Linked DNA regions of Homo sapiens: all the other regions are linked to region 4. The links are contacts of gene promoters, found by promoter capture Hi-C in blood cells and fetal thymus (Javierre and others, 2016). All regions are on one chromosome and are shown on one strand. The core of a region is centred on a gene start or on the middle of the fragment in contact, and the rest is flanking DNA. Distances in the headings are between cores, read along the strand shown.

Region 1 (2,875 bases), core at 144-2,643, 510 kb before region 4:
TGAATCCAAAGCATGTCTAACATACAGGAAAAACACAGCCCTGTTAAGCAGTCTTGAAACCCACAAGCTACATGGAAAACACAGATTCAACTACATCATAAAAATTCAGACAATTCTGGTTCAGGATGAAGAATTGATCCTAAGCAATTTTCTTTCTCTCTCTCTCTCTGAAGACTCTTAAATGGCATTTTAAAAATAATAATGGGGCCAGGCGCAGTGGCTCACGCCTGTAATCCCAACACTTTGGGAGGCCGAGGTGGGATCACGAGGTCAGGAGTTGAAGACCAGCCTGACCAACATGGTGAAACTCCGTCTCTACCCAAAATACAAAAATTCCCGGGCATGTGGCTCACGCCTGTAATCCCAGCTACTCAGGAGGCTGGGGCAGGAGAATCGCTTGAACCCGGGAGGTGGAGGTTGCAGTGAGCCGATATCGCACCACTGCACTCCAGCCTGGGTGACAGAGTGAGACTCCGTCTCAAATAATAATAATAATAATAATAATAATAATTAGCATGTCTTTTAATTAGCATGTTATTATTATTATGGTTGCCAGGTGCAGTGGCTCACACCTGCAATCCCAGCACTTTGGGAGACTGAGACAGGTGTATCACCTGAGGCCAGGAGTTCAAGACCAACCTGGCCAACATGGTGAAACACCATCTCTACTAAAAATACAAAAATTAGGTGGGCATGGTGGTGGGCAAATGTAATCTCAGCTACTCAGGAGGCTCAGGCAGGAGTAATCTCTTGAACCCGGGAGGCGGAGGTTGCAGTGAGCCGAGATCGTGCCACTGCACTCCAGCCTGGGTGACGGAGTGAGACTCGGTCTCAAAAAATAAAAAATAAAATAAAAATAATAATGATATAACCTGTGTAAAGAGAACAGAAGAGGACTATCGAGAAATAAAAATTTTTACCATGTTCCTAGAAGCTGGATAATTGATAGAGAAGTGGTAAATTATGAATTAATTTGAAAGAAATAAAACTTAGAAGTATTTGAGGAAGGGACAAGGCTCAGGAAGATGCCTATCTCCCTGAAGAATTCCAGAGAAATTAGAGGCATGGAAATACCAGATACAAAGAAGGGGAAGAGTGAAACATGGAAATGAAGAGTCAAGTCTGTCATCCAACTGACGGAAGTTTCAGAAAGAGAGTATAGAAATAGCACGTGAGAGAAAAGTGTCAGAAATTATAAGATACTTTATCTGAGCTAAATAATACAAGTCATCATACGGATAGAGTCCACAGAGTAGCCATCACATTGAAAATAATTTCTTATGTCTAGACATATTATTACAAAATTTCAGAACATCGAGGTTCAAGTAAATTTGCAACAGCTTCCAGAAAGGAAATATTAAAGCAAAACAAAACAAATCAAGACACAGCTAACCCATAAAGTAGCAAGAATCAAACTTGTTTCAGCAACACTGGAAACTAGAAGTCTATGGACCAAGCCCTATGGACCAGGGACCACATCTGAGAGAGAAAAAGGATATGCCATCTGTTTATGTACATATGTCCATGGGAAGTTTCATAGAAACTCAGAGTTCTGCTGGAAATGATATTCAACCTAGAAGTCTTTTTTTTTTTTTTTTTTTTTTTTTAGATGGAGTCTCGCCCTTTTGCCCAGGCTGGAGTGCAATGTGCAATCTCGGCTCACTGCAACCTCCACTTCCCAGGTTCAAACGATTCTCCTGCCTCAGCCTCCCGAGTAGCTGGGATTACAGGTGCCCGCCATCATGCCCAGCTAATTTTTGTGTTTTTAGTAGAGACGGGTTTCACCATGTTGGTCAGGCTGGTCTCAAACTCCTGACCTCATGATCTGCCCACCTTGGCCTCCCGGAGTGCTGAGATTACAGGTGTGAGCCACCGTGCCCAGCCTCAACCTAGAATACTATACTTGGCTAGCTTAGCCTAGGCACTCTGCTAAAAAGCAAAGTTCCAGGCAGGGATTAAAATACTTATATTTTGCTTGGGAGGTATAAGCCTAAGGTGGTGAGCATGAGAAACCCAGTAAGTGAGGCATGGGAAGATGTGAAGCATCACCGCACAGCCACCAATTCACAATGAGCCCCAAAGAACCATACTCAGCATGTGTGTGTGCTCAGTACAAGGGTGTACCCTTCCTATCTGTTTTTCATTGGTCAAGATTAACTCCATGATACAATACACACTCTCACCCCCCACCCATATACATTTCTAGGTTACATCATCCAGCCTCAGTGACAGGTCAGGAACTAGACCTTACACTTTGCATTGGGACATTACATCCAAATCGGGAAGAAGAGGGGCAACCCCACACAGATGGGGCTCTGACCATAGAGGGAAAGAAGGTACACTAAAATTAACCTTACCTAAAATTGCATCATTCTTGAGAAGTCATTGAGGTTGTATTTCTGAAAACCAAGGAAGTAATCTAAAATGAATGAAGAAATAAGACCTAAAAAGCAATGGCTTTACCCCAGGAGAGCAAAGAATGTTCTATGATTATGGCTGGACAGTTGGCTCTGAGAACAACTATTTCAGACAGAAGCAGGGGACAATGCTCCAACAAGATCTACAGGAACAGCTTGAGCATATGGTGAAAGCATTTGGTGGGAGTTTTAAAAAAGAATCTATTCAAACATCACTCTAGAAATATTCCCTTTGAGTGGTATAGTCATGATATTAAATTCGTAGAGAAAGAAAAATACTCCTAGCACACCACTCAGGTCAATGTTGAAAAGATGTCTTTCATAATAATGTAAATGTGTATTGATTTTCTAATTTTAAAATTAATTAACAGACAAATTACAGAAGACTTAGACTATTACAAAATAGAATGTAAAGTTATCAACCATGACAATATAAAAGCACAATGGAATGGGTGGAA
Region 2 (2,782 bases), core at 201-2,700, 470 kb before region 4:
GGGCAGGGAATAGAAGATATAAATGGAGCGGGAAGTTACTGTGCTGAGATATCCTTTCTTTCATTTCCAAGGAATTGATCACTAATGTAGATATTTGAGGAGAAATGTATTGACAATGAGGATTGCTATGCTGTAATACTAGTCTTTGGAGAATTGAAAGGAATAGGATTTTAACACTGGCTGCAAATCAGAAGCACAGGATGAGGTGTTAAAAAAATTTTTGTGCTAGACCCCACCCCCTTGAGATTCTGATTTAATTGTTCTGGAATCAAAACTGGCATCAGTAGTTTTTCAGAAGCTTCCCCAGGTGGGTGATTATGACATGTAGTCAGTCAGGGTTGAGAACCCTTGGTGCAAAATCTTTTCTTCCCCTTCAGATGTCATTACAACAAGGTAAATTCACTTTTGCTGGACAGGCTTAAACATAGTTCTGCTGGATGTTAGAACAATACATTCTGCTACTTCTTGGGAATGTTTTTGTGTCCTATGGGTTTGTCATTTATTCATTCATTCATTCAACAAAGGTTTACTTAGCACTCTCTATTGCCAAACATTGTGTTAGAGAGGTAGTCCTTAACCAGGGCAGGTTTTTACCATTGCCCCCACCTCCACCCCAGGGAGATTTGGCAATGCCTGGAGACATTTTGATTGTCATAAGCAGGGTGAGACCTACTGGCTTATAGTAGTTAGAGGCCATGGATGCTGCCAAACTTCCAACAATGCACATGACAGTCCCCTACAGTAAGTTATTTGCCATAAAATGTCAATAATGCTGAGGTTAAGAAATCCTGTATTAGAAGATGGGAATGAACAAGAAAGATTGCCCATCTCTATGGAGTTTATGATCTATTAGGAAAGGCAGACAATACACAAACACTATATATATATCATATATATATATATCACATATATTTGTCATATATAGATATATATCATATATACATATGATATGTACATAATGTGTATTATATGACAGCAGGAACATCGCCATCTTGGGCAAGCCCTTCATTCTAAAGTTCACCTAATAAAAAACTGCCTAAATCCAAAGGGCATCAGCCTAATGGCTAAGGTCAGCAAGACCATAAACCACAAATAACATCTCCAACCAGAAACATTCCAAACTCCTCCCCGACGAGAGACATGCTAGCTCCGAGATCACCTCCCTTTGGCCGGAAAGATGCCAGCCTCAAGATAAACCCCCTCCAGCCGGAAAGATGTCTGTCCCAAAATAAACTCCCCTCCTCCCAGAGACATTCCAACCCTGCCATAAATCCTCTCCCTCACACTGAAACATTCCAAGCTAGTGATAAGCCCCCTCACCCTAAAACAAATATATTCTCTTAGTCTGTAAGAGAAAGTGCTCCTGACCAAAATTGGCCAGAAACCCCTCTCATATTTTATCTAAAGTAAAGGTGTCTTTAACTGCCAATCTGTGTTTCATGTTTCTTTCCTCTTTCTTTAACTCTTACATTATATATATATGTGTGTGTGTATATATATATATGTGTGTGTGTGTGTATACACACACATGACGAGGTAGCTGTAAGTGTTATAAAGAAGACGTAAGAAAAGTAAGGGAATAGAGAGTGACTAGGGTGAGGATACTATAGATAAGGTGAAGAGGGAAGAGTTCTCTGAGAAAATGACATTTAGATAATCACTCAAATAATGTAAAGAAGTTAGACAAGAATTTGAAAGTTACATTAGAAGTTAGATTTGAAGTTTGACGTTACATGAGAGAGGACGATGGATTTTCTCAGAGTGTGGGGAAGGAAATAAATTAGAAAAATATGGTAAAATCTCAGGCAACTCAATTGCGTTTTGTGGTCATAATTTTAAAATGAAACCTATCATAGATGTTGCAGCCTCTGGCCATGTTCAGCTCTTGGAAGCATATGGAGAAGAGTAGGGTTAACCCGGATTGGGGCTTTTCCAAGTGATTTTGACTGAGGAAGAGAGAATCATGGCCTTCAAAGGCATTTTCAGGGGAGTGATTGGTCTGATAGCTTGTGGATTCTAAGCTCGGTAAGTAGTGATGGACAGCGAAAAAGTGATAGGATCATTGAACTGTAGGTCAAAATGGTGTCAGATAATTACTGGGGTGAAGGTTCTAGAAAAAGTGAGATGGAAGCAAAGAGAGTAGGGGTCAGAAAGTTGGATGATTGAATATGAAGTATATATACATATTTTTTTTTGTTGTTGTTGTTTTTTGAGACAGGGTTTCTCTCTGTCATCCAGGCTGGAGTGCAGTGGTGTGATCTCAGCTCACTGCAACCTCTGCCTCCCAGGTTCAAGTGATTCTCCTGCCTCATCCTCCAGAGTAGCTGGGACTACAGGTGTGCACCACCCACCCAGCTAATTTTTGTATTTTTAGTAGAGTTGGGATTTTGCCATGCTGGCTAGGCTGGTCTTGAACTCCTGACCTCAAGTGATCTGCCCACTTCGCCCTCCCAAAGTGCTGGGATTACAAGCATGAGCCACTGCATCTGGATGAACATAAAATATTTTTGAAGCCAACATCTAAGCAGGAGTGAGGATTCCTCTTCTTCTTGGTGCCTCTTTTATATCCTACTGTGGGCATTGTAGCCAGGAGAGTGGTACAAGAAGCTTTGTATTATCAGCTGGGGGACGTTATTATCAGGTTCCATGATTTTGACTTGATATCTTTCCTGGCTTTTTCATATATGGGGTTGTGAGTATGAGTGAATAGGGACAACTGAGTACAAATCCTAGAGTACAGTGCCATGATAAACATACTGGGCAGGGGGAAATAAGCAGGCAC
Region 3 (2,843 bases), core at 144-2,643, 420 kb before region 4:
TTATTTTTGCTTAAAAGGAGCAGAGGAGAGCATCTCCCAGAATGCATGAATTTGTGGTTCATATTGATAACTGATTGCTTTACCATCAAATTGTTTGGTTTGATGCAATGTTAACAAGTGGTCTTAATTCACAACACAGAAGTATTCTATTCCAGAAAACAACCCTGCTGATATGCCTGCCACCCCCACCCCAAAATGCACACACAAAACCATGTTTTTGTCTTGCTTTGTGGGAGAGAAAAATGGATGGGGTATCTTTTCTGGCAGTTGATTAGTCCCCGATCTTTCTTGAATTGTCATTTGTTTTATAACCTATAATTATAGAAAAGAACCCTCCTTGAAATAAAATTAATAAAACCTTACATGTTTAGTCAGATCACAGGAATAATTTTTTAGAGTTGAGTGGAAGCTTCCATGATCCTCTTCCAATGTCGTCCCCGGGGAGCCGTTAAGCTTCCCACTTCTCTGATAACATAACTCCTCTACTCTACATACCTCTATCTTAGCTCTTACCACCTTATGATTCTAGGTTTACATATCCATCTTGCTTAGAGTAATAAAATTTATTTGGAAGCAAGGGTAATGCCTTATTAATCTTTGTATCCCTGGAGCCTAGTAAAGTAAGGTCTGTTGAAAAAAAATGAATGAATAAAATAATTTGGCAGTCCAGATTAGGTTTACCATTCCTTGAAATCCACCTGTGCATTCTTTCTCTTCACTCCTAAAAGATAAGTCATTTAATTCAATGGTACTCAAAGTGTGGATCCTCAGAATACACTGTGTTCTAAATAAATGAGAGTTTTCTATATTTGAAAAAATCTATATATTGTTGTGAACTTTAATATTTAATTTTTTATTTTTTATTTTTTATTTTTTTGCTGAAAGTAACAGAAAAGCCAACTAAACATGGCTTGTAATACTACAGAAGTTTAGCTGGGCGCAGTAGCATGTGCCTGTGGTCCCAGCTACACAGGAGGCTGAGGTGGGAGGATCCCTTGAGCCCAGGATTTTAAAGCTGCAGTGAGCTATGATTGCACCACTACATTCTAGTTTGGGTGACAGGGTAAGACCCTGTCTCTAAAGAAAAAAAAAAAAAACAAAGAAAATAGAGAAGGCTGACAGTAGGTAATAACTGGAGTTGATACAGTGACCCAACAATATCAGGGTTCTGAGTCAGTGTCTTACCCTCATGGCTTCAAGATGGCTCTAACAGCTCAAGACACTCGGTCCTAATCCCATGTTCAATGACAGGAAACGGGGTGGAAAAGGTCAGAGTATTTTTCCTCATGCAACTTTCTCATCAGAGAAAAAATATCCTTCCCCAAATTTATCTAACAGAATCCTACTTTTATCTCATTGGCAATATCTGGGGCACATAGCTGCCCTTAGTGGCAAAGGAGACTGGGAAAGTATCCGTTTTTTCAGCTTCTATAGTGGAAAGGCAGCCAGGGAGAGGCAGGTAGGTGATGTATTTGGGGAACTGACCAGAAAGTCTTCTAGACTGTCAAGAAAATAAGTCTTTTTGAACCTGTGATCGTATCAATGTTCTGGCCAAGTAAAATACTAAATATTAATCAATGTAGCAAAAGCACACATTTAGAGCAGATTTCCCCTCTCCACATGGGTATATGGTATTTTAAGGGTGCCAAATCACTTTTATGGAGTGTGCTAACTTTTAGAGACTGCACCTTGCCTGTGTGTGTGTGTGTGTAATCTCATAGGGTTTCTATTAAGTATGGATCAAACCCTCAAGTTCCTGGAAAAGAGTAAATATTCAGTAAATAGTTGTCCTTTGAGTGGAGTGTTGAGTTTGGGAGCTTCAAAACTTCACAGGGACATGGGAAAGGATTTAGTGAGGAAAAAAAACTGATGAGTGGTTTGCTGCCAATGCCTTGGAAGGCTGGTTTACAGCATCTGAATGTCTTTAATTTGGATCCTAGGAGCCTGGAGGGAAACTTAACAAGAGGGAAAAGAAGAACCTAGGGAGAGGTAGTGGCACTGACAACTTGGTTCAACAGATTATCTTTGGGGACCTTCTCTATACCTGTACTGGGGAAGATGTACTACTGCCCCCCTCCCCCACACACAGTTCAAAATGGTCCCTAGCACACACACACACACTAAAACTTAAAAAGTTGAAGCATGAAAAGAGTGTATATTATTGCCCGCTTTGATTTAACTTTCTCTTTTCCAGTAGAATATTCTCTCAAATACTTACAGAAGGTAGTTTTTGGACATCATGGTGGGAGATCAGATAAGCAAGTATCGAGAGATTGAAATTTAATGATTACAATTGTCTTAGATTTCTCATCAATGAAAAGAATGGAGTAGATCAAGCTTGTCCAACCTGTGGCTTGCAGGCCACATGCAGCCCATGACAGCTTTGAATGTGGCTCAACACAAATTTGTAAACTTTCTTAAAACATTATGAGATTTTTTTTCAATTTTTTTTTTTTAGCTCATCAGCTATCATTAGTGTTAGTGTATTTTATGTGTGGCCCAAGACAATTCTTCTTCCAGTGTGGCCCAGGTAATCCAAAAGACTGGACACCCCTGGAGTAGATTAGCAGTGGTATTCAAACTTTGTTGCACATTAAAAATTACCTGGGGAGGTTTTTTTGTTTGTTTGTTTTCTGTTTTTATTTTTTTTTTTGAGATGGAGTCTCACTGTTGTTGCCCAGGCTGGAGTGCAATGGCGTGATCTCAGCTCACTGCAACCTCTGCCTCCCAGGTTCAAGCGATTCTCCTGCCCCAGCCTCCCAAGTAGCTGGGATTACAGGCACCTGCCACCACACGCGGCTGATTTTTGTATTTTTAGTAGAGACGGGGTTTCACCATGTTAG
Region 4 (2,735 bases), core at 128-2,627:
ACTGTTTTGTCTTGGCTCCCCTGGCTTCCCTGATACCCTCATCCCAAGCCAAGGTTTGGTGGCTCTGCTCTGGCCCTGTAATATCTACTGTCAATTTATATGGTCATTTTGTTTACTTTCCTGTATGTCTCACTAAATTGTGAACTGCAGGCCAGGAATGTCAGTTCCGGCCAGGAGCATGGAAGAAAACATACATATTTCAGTGAAGGTATGATTCTGCTCAAACCCAGTGTTTTTTCAAAATGGTCGTGACCTATTAGTGGGCCAGAAAATCAATTCAGTGGATCACGATCAGCATTTTAAAAGAATGCATTATCAAAAAGGTGTGTGTGGAATCTAAGTGGATAGAACAAGGACTGCTTCACCAGACATCTATTTCTGTTACACGGTATATATGGAGTATCGGGTCACAATGTCAAAAGTATTTCTAACTATGGAGCTCAGGAAAAAAAAGGCTAAAAAACACTCGCTAAAGGGTCCCTCTTCTCCCTCTTTGTCCAATTTATTTCCTGTATCCCCTTTTACCCCACAGCCCTGATCACTCACTCTTTACTGCATTCAATACATAACCGGGAGCTCAGGACCTCCAAAGTGCACAAGTCTGGAGTCCGCACTTTGGGGAGTTTACAGAAAGTGTCCCTCCCTGGCCGGGCGCGGTGGCTCACGACTGTAATCCCAGCAATTTGGGAGGCCGAGGTGGGCTGATCACCTGAGGTCGGGAGTTCGAGATCAGCCTGACCAACATGGAGGAACCCCGTCTCTACTAAAAATATAAAATTAGCCGGGCGTGGTGGCGCATGCCTGTAATCGCAGCTACTCGGAGGCTAAGGCAGGAGAATCGCCTGAACCCGGGATGCGGAGGTTGCGGTGAGCCGAGATTGCGCCATTGCACTCCAGCCTGGGCAACAAGAGTGAAACTCCGTCTCATAAAAAAAAAAAAAAAGTGTCCCTGCCTTCAAGAAGCTCATCAAGAGCTTATTTAAAAAGCATACGAAAGACAGGCACCCTCTTTCCCGTTCTCCCCCATCCTGTTCTTCCCGTCCGGTCCTCTGCCCTCAGTCATTCGCGGGAGCGCAACCAGCGATCCCGCCCCAGTCCGGCTGCCAAGCCTGGGGCCTGTCCCCCTACAGGGCCGATCCGGAGGCGGGGCCCGGCCGCCCGCGGACCCTCCCTCCCGGCCTTCCGCCACCGGCGCGGGCGCAACTCACCGGGCATCAGCTCTTCCGGCTCCCTCATGCCACGGGCAGTACGGGCAGCCTGCGCCGGGGCCAGGAGGCTGTAGAGGACGGTTTGGTCGGGGCTAAAGCAGCTACTCCGCACCGACGCGGGCCGCGAAAGCCCCCAAGTTCCGCATGGCGAAACTCCGGAGATCAACTACAACCGCGCTCCCGGAAGTCAACAAACAGCCGCTACGGGCAACGGGGGCGGAGCTTGGGAATGCAAGGCGGGACAGGCGCCGTTGGGGAGGGGAACGGAGGCCGGGTGGCTGGTAAGGGGCAGGCTCAGGCACAGCGGAGGGGCAGTAGAGACCACGCGCCCTCTGGCGGCCTGGAGCAGAGAGGCGGCCACGCCGCGCAGTGATGCTGTGGAGTCCGCGCCCTTGTGCCGTTGGAGGTCCAGGCGCCGCAGGGACCCTGCCCATGAGTGGCAAACGTCACAAATCCCATACTCCGTGACATAAGCAAGCATCGACACACAATTATGACACTACTAGTAATAGTGACCAGCTGGAACATTAAAGGAGGTAAGCACTCTGCTAAAGATATCCCCAGCATCTAAACCAACATCTGGCCTATACTGAATGCTCATTACGTATTTATTGGACAAATGAGTACTATTACAACCCTGTAAAGTGGTTAATGTTACCTCTGTTTAAGCATGTGGGCAGCTAGTCCAGCTAGTCCAGCCTGTAGTCAACAAAAGTAAAAGCTGAGGTGTATATGGTCCACTACTCACAGAACATACACAAAGGGGTAGCCCAACATCATTGCTCTAGAATTTGCTCAGCGATGTTATATGATGCAGGGTTTCCCATGCATCAACATTTGGCTATCATGAAATAAAGAAGCAAAAAGCCATCTTCCAGAATGAGCAGATTTACGTACGTTTGGTAGTTGTGGACATGGGCCCTAGAATCAGACACAATTGGATTCAGGGATCCCTGAATTACTCTTGTGTGTTACCAACACTTTCTCAGGAAGTTTGCATTAACATGAAGAGGGGACATTAAACTATTAGTTACACAAATAATCATTTACTTACAAAGCAAAGTGGAGGTTACTAAGGAAGTGGTTAACAAGAAGCGTTGACCTGGTGTAGGAGGTTAAGAAAGGCTTATCTGAAGAAAGAACATTAAATCTAAGAACTGGAGAAAGATAAGCCAGGAGGGGGAGAGAGCTCTTGGCAGAGAGTAAATTGTGTATAAAGGTTTGTAAGGAGCTTGACTCTTTCCAGGAACACCAAGAGGCGAGGCTGGTTCCTAGCGAGGTGGCAAGGTCTTGGGCCTATTAAGGATCTGAGATTTTATCCTAAAGACAATGTGAAACCACTGAGAAGTTTTAGGCAGTAGAACAACAGGACAGGATCAGTTATGTGTGTCCCTGAAATCATTCTGCCTGGTCTAGATGCTTTGTAGAGAATAAACTGGAGCAGTGAGAAGGGTTCAGAGGCTATTGCAGAATTTCAGACATGTGGTCAGGATGGCTTGGAGTACAGTTCATTGGTGCCAGAGAGGA

Evidence for each region. Contacts are between HindIII fragments. The CHiCAGO score rates a contact against its expected background, and 5 or more counts as called.
Region 1: a fragment that was not itself captured here is called in contact with the fragment with the promoter of RPGR in region 4 in 1 of 17 cell types (neutrophils); the score reaches 5.5 in neutrophils.
Region 2: a contact is called between a fragment that was not itself captured here and the fragment with the promoter of RPGR in region 4, in 2 of 17 cell types (naive CD8 T cells and neutrophils). The highest score is 5.5, in naive CD8 T cells.
Region 3: a fragment that was not itself captured here is called in contact with the fragment with the promoter of RPGR in region 4 in 1 of 17 cell types (neutrophils); the score reaches 6.6 in neutrophils.

Annotation. Positions count from the first base shown.
Region 1 is chrX:37,818,287-37,821,161 of GRCh38, forward strand. No RefSeq gene overlaps it. Among named protein-coding and RNA genes, the nearest start is that of DYNLT3, 28 kb to the right of the region's middle. The HindIII fragment of the contact is 7,319 bases long and covers 1-2,875 here.
Region 2 is chrX:37,859,740-37,862,521 of GRCh38, forward strand. No RefSeq gene overlaps it. Among named protein-coding and RNA genes, the nearest start is that of DYNLT3, 14 kb to the left of the region's middle. The HindIII fragment of the contact is 2,309 bases long and covers 297-2,605 here.
Region 3 is chrX:37,907,039-37,909,881 of GRCh38, forward strand. It overlaps a transcript of SYTL5 not described here. Among named protein-coding and RNA genes, the nearest start is that of DYNLT3, 61 kb to the left of the region's middle. The HindIII fragment of the contact is 1,884 bases long and covers 452-2,335 here.
Region 4 is chrX:38,326,132-38,328,866 of GRCh38, forward strand. RPGR (retinitis pigmentosa GTPase regulator) reads right to left here and starts at 1,378. Exons shown (of 15, transcript NM_001034853.2): 1 at 1,209-1,378. The coding sequence starts at 1,236. It also overlaps a transcript of OTC not described here. RefSeq lists a silencer at 1,067-1,316. The HindIII fragment of the contact is 17,506 bases long and covers 1-2,735 here.